Regions from separate parts of the Homo sapiens genome. Here region 1 is linked to region 2. The links are contacts of gene promoters, found by promoter capture Hi-C in human tissues and cell types (Jung and others, 2019). All regions are on one chromosome and are shown on one strand. The core of a region is centred on a gene start or on the middle of the fragment in contact, and the rest is flanking DNA. Distances in the headings are between cores, read along the strand shown. Region 1 has its middle 48 kb from the start of PRKACB. Region 2 holds the start of DNASE2B (deoxyribonuclease 2 beta).

Evidence for each region. Contacts are between HindIII fragments. The study calls those that stand out against the background at their distance.
Region 1: a fragment that was not itself captured here is called in contact with the fragment with the promoter of DNASE2B in region 2 in 2 of the 25 tissues and cell types used here (hippocampus and lymphoblastoid cells).

The regions. Positions count from the first base shown.
Region 1 is chr1:84,094,916-84,097,615 of GRCh38, reverse strand. It overlaps a transcript of PRKACB not described here. Among named protein-coding and RNA genes, the nearest start is that of PRKACB, 48 kb to the left of the region's middle. The HindIII fragment of the contact is 5,327 bases long and covers 1-2,700 here.
Region 2 is chr1:84,397,155-84,399,854 of GRCh38, reverse strand. It overlaps DNASE2B (deoxyribonuclease 2 beta), which reads right to left and starts at 1,371. Exons shown (of 6, transcript NM_021233.3): 1 at 1,166-1,371. The coding sequence starts at 1,290. The HindIII fragment of the contact is 7,255 bases long and covers 1-2,700 here.

The sequences.
Region 1 (2,700 bases), core at 5-2,504, 300 kb after region 2:
TTATATGACTTATCAGCCTCCATAATCATGAGTCAATTTCCATAATAAGTATATATGTATGTAAGAGGAGATTTATTATAGAAATAATCTTTCTCCCCACACACACCCCTCCTATTGGTTCTGTTTCTCTGGAGAACCCTTATTAATACACACACCAAAATGGCTAAAACAAAACAATACCTGTCAATACCAAGGATGGTGAAGATGTGGGGCAATGGAAACTCTCCTACACTGCTACTGTGAGTGCAAATTGGTATAACCTCTTTCGAAAACAGTTTGATAGTATCTACTAATGTAGATACTATCTACTAATGTATCTACAGATACATATACTTTATGACAGTATTCCATTTATAGGTATATACCTAACAGAAATGAGTATAGGTGTGTATGAAAATGCACAAAAATGGTCAACAATGTTCACAGAAGTTCTAGTCATAATAGTCCCAAACTGGAAAACAACCCAATTACCATCAAATGTAGAAAGAAAAAATAAATTGTGTATTCACACCATGGAACACTATACATTAACAAAAAGTAAAGAACCCTACCTTCAGCAACAGGACTAAATTTTGCAAACAATGTTGAAATTAAAATCCCAGATATAAAACAGTATAATTGTTATTCTACTTAAGTAAAGCTCAAAAACAGGCGAAACTAATATATGGTGACAGAAATAAGAATAGTGGTTACATCTGAGGGAAGCATGCTTATTGACTCTGGAGGGACAAGGGAACCTTCTAGAATGCTGTTAATTTGCATATATTGATCTAGTCACGATTATATGAGGAATTCATTTGTAAACCCTCTTCAATCTATAAGCTTAAAAATGTGCACACTTTATACTATGATTCATTGCACAGATTTACAAAAAGAAAAAATACTATCAAGGGATTTCTGCTTCAATAAAGTGATATATAAAAAAAACTCTTGTTAAAATAACATAAATATTGGTAGAAATGGGGTAAGAGTTGTTTGAAAGTATTAGCAAAGGAGTCAGCAGGTTTTGAGGAACACCAAGGTCCTGAAAAGATGGGAAATGATTAGAGATCAAGATTCTTTACAGCTTTTGCCCTCAGGGCATTTCCTCAATTGGTAGAAAGGACATGCAAAAAGCTAAGGCTCAAATATTCAACATTACACTTGGCTGACAAGGGAAAAAAATGGAATTCAGAGACTTTAGGGCCAAGAAACCAGAAATAAAAATCCCAACATTCTGTACTACTTTTTCTTCTTGAAGCATTCAGATGTTTAAGATACCTAAGGCATGACACTAAAGAACAGATAGTGAGAAGCACCTTTTTAGGAGATTAGAAAACTAAGCAAATATTTCAGTAATCTCACAGTGAGGAAAGAAAAATTGAAGTTCAGGGCTAGCATGAGGTAGGGCCCTGATAAACACCACCAGGCCTTCAGTCAAAACCACTGAAAGGCTCCATCGATAGGAGTAAGAATAGGAAATAGACCAAGCCTCACAAAGACTGAGAACAGCCAACAAGTCATCTTAATTGTTGATGGATCAACACAATCTGACCCAACTCTAACCATCAGCCAAAATAAGTCCTCTCTTAAGAAATATAACATGATACAAAATACATTCAATTAAAGATTCCTAGGCATGCCAAAAGATAAGACCAAATAACCAAAAATAAGAGAACAAACATACCATAGAAAAACACACTGGTAATAAAAATTGTAAATTCAGACATGAACTTTAATATAGCTATGATTAATTTGTACAAAAATATAAATGAGTAGAAAAATTTACAAGTAGAAACTCAAAAATCAACTGGAAAATCTAGAGATTAAAAATATAATAATTGAAATTATATATCAGAAATTTTACATATACATGTAATTGGTATCTCAGAAGAATAGGAAAGAAAAGACGGGATAGAGGCAACATATTAAGATATGCTTATTGAAAACTGTCTTAAATAAATGAAACATTTTGAGCCATGATTCTAAAAAGTTGCAAACAGAAAGTAGGGGGAATAAAATCACCTAGGCATATTGTGAAACTGCTGAAAACCAAAGGCAAAGAGAAAATCTCAAAGCAACCAAAGAAAAAAAAAGATATACTACCTTCATAAAGCAACACTGAGACTAACAGCTGATTTCTCAACAAAACAATGGAAAACAAAACATGATGAAACATCTTCAAAGTGTTCAAAGAAAGTAATTCTCAACCTAAAATTCCATACTTATAAAATATATCCTGAAAAAGTGAAGGTAAAAAATACACAAATCCAGATAAATAAAAACTGACATAATTCATCACTAGGACACCTTTACACAAGACTTATTTATGGCACAAGTAACTTAGACCAGAGAATGCATGAAGGAATAAGCGCAAAAAAAAAAAAAACAGCAAATATGGGATAAATATAAATATTGAGGGCCCTGAACAATAATAATAATGCATGATGGAGTGTTAAATACAGTCATGTGTCACTTAATGCCAGGGATACATTCTGAGAAATGTGTCATTAGGCAATCTCGTCACTGTACGAACATCATAGAGTGCACTTACATAAACCTAGATCGTATAGCTTACTACATATCTAAGCTATATGGATAGCCTATTGCTCCTAGGCTACAATCCTATACTGCATGTTACTAACTGAATTCTGTAGGCAGTTGTAATACAATGGTATTTGTGTATCTAAACATATAAAAAGTACATTAAAAATGAAGTAG
Region 2 (2,700 bases), core at 122-2,621:
CTGACCATTCACACCCCTGCGTGAAGTCCTCCAATAGCTCCCTTTCAATGTCAAGTTCAAACCTTGTAGCTCAGCACACAGACCCCTTGGCTGTCCCCACCTCTCTAACCTCACCTCCGGTCATCTTCCTGTATTCTCCTGAAGTTCCAGCAATACCAAACTACTTTGCAACTCCCAAATTTCCATGTTGCTTCTTGCCTCTCTACCTCCTCATTGCTCCTTCATTGGCCTGAGATGCTCTTGCACATCCCTTCTTTTTCCAGCTACTTCTTAATTGTTCTTAAAACTTAGCTCAAAAATTACATCCTTAGAGAAGTTTTCTGGGCTCTCTGTTCCCCAGTGTTCCACCTATGCCCTTACCACATAACTGTGAGGTCCTTGAGGGTAGGAACCATGTTTCGTTCATATTTATATTTTCAAAACTCCACACAGACCTCTGTTGAGCTCAGTAACTGAGGAAAGACTGACTACTGCCTTGAGTATATCTGTGTTCTGTAGCCTGAAGTTTACACAAAAAGCTTGACACCAACCATTATGGCAAACCTAAATATCCCAATTAAAGGGTGAAAAAGTAGTTAAAGCTTTAGGAGAACCCATGACTATAATGCAACACAGCATTTAATGTCTTTGACACTGTACAACAGGCCAGTGGCCTACGTACCAATCATGGCAACAGCTGCCTCTGCTTCCAAACAAACCGATGTTAGGCAAACAGTGCTGTGTGTGACCAGGTCCCCCTTCTCTTTCTCATAAGGAGCAGCACATGCTCCATTTTCAGAAAAAAATAATCTGCCTTCTTTACTCTGTCAGTCTTTCAAAGGATGTTGGAAGTGTTCTGTTAGGAAAAGCCATGATGTAATTAAAAGAAATTGCCAGCTCACAGAAGCTGTCAGCTCAATCCCACTTCTGTGGCTACCAGCCTTGCCCCGCTGAGAACAGTGAATCAGGCCCAAGAGGGGCTGCTCAGCTCTTTTTCAGGGGGAAACTCCGTCACTCAGAAGCCTACCCCTGCCTGGGAGTTTGGCCGATTTGCACACTTTAACTTCCTTTATTTGTAAAGGGAGGAAAGAGAATGGACATTCCCCTTAGGAACTTCGCAGTGAGCCAGGCCAACTCTGTACCGAGGCTGTTTGCATGCAGCAGTCCTTCCATTTCATTTACCTACCAGTCCACAGCTTTCCCTTCTTCATTTCTGCATGAAATTGTTGCTGCCCCCAGCACCCCAAAGAGGCCAAGGAAGAGCAAAGCAAAGGATGTTCTTAGCAGTCTTGCCATCATTTTCTGTTTCATTTATTTCATGCCACAGCAGGACACTTTCCCCATAGATTGTGGAGTCTGAGTTTCAAGGCGCTCTCAGGCTGTGCTGGCTCTGACGTTTGATTTGATTTACCTGTGCTGTTCGCTGTTCGGGGCATTTTCAGAGTGGGATGGATCCCATGTAATTGTGCGATTCTGTCACAACATGCCAGCGTGACTCTGGATGCCTTTGTGCTGAATTGTTGACTGGTTTGCAAAGTCATCAAAAAGTTCTGCAGAAAAATAGGGAAAGATAGTTCACTCTTTGGAGTGAACATTGTTGTATGAAATTCATTGGGCAGGGGGACTTCATTTTAATAAGTAGATGTTAAATATATTTCATGTCTTCTCCTGTTTGACTCAATGAATGAGAGCAAATGCAGGTGGTTCGTACATTAAACAGAAATGATAAAACCTTATGTCTTAGTAATAATTAGGATCTGTCACTTAATAATCTCTGTCTTAAGGAACCAGTTGCTAAGGGATACTTCAAAGGGTTGCTTCAAAGTAACAGTAAATTTAACTGTATTTTACCAAAGATGTTTACATATTCTCTCCATCTTCCTGGTTTTAGCCACTCAATGTGGTGCTTCAGGCTGCTATGCAATAGGTAAACATATTGATCACCCACTCTTCAGGTTAATAAAAAATGTTACAAACATCTATTTTGCCCAAACTATGCTTTCTCATTCTCGAAGCTGAATCTGAAGTAGAAAACCAAAATAAAATGGCCCACTACCATAACAACTATAAAAAGGTGAGACCAATTTCTTTGTGAATCAGGGAAGGAGTAGATAGACATATGAAAATAATTTCTTTAATGCATACTTTTGCATCAATTATTAAAGCTGCCATCATAATAAATAGCAGTTTACATCATGCCTGGAAATAATGCTGCCCCTAATCTGTCTCTCTGATAATCACAATGATAACTATAATAGTTCCAGATCAGAGGATCCAGACCAAACTGAACCCTTGTAAATCAGATTACCTCTGTGGTTGCACTAGAACTGTTCACAATTCTCAGGATTCATAGAAAAGGGGAAGGCTTGTGTCTCTATCCTAAGACAGAGTTTTGGGAGGAGGACTCTGTACCACCTGCCCAATTACCTGTGGTGCCTGCAAAAAAGGCAGAATTCTAGGACTTATTCCAAACCTGCTACATCAGAATTCTTCCAGTTGGGCTCAAGAATCTATATTTTTAATAAGCTTATTGGTGATGCTGGTGTACCCTAAAGTTTGAAACTCACTGCCCTGAGGCCAAGACTATGCTGTATTTGGTAGATTCACAGCTTTCTGCAGGTTAAATGAAGAAATATTTTTCTTACCCATTCCTCCATTGGTATTATTATTATTATTATTTTGAGATGAAGTTTTGCTCTTGTTGCCCAGGCTGGAGTGTAC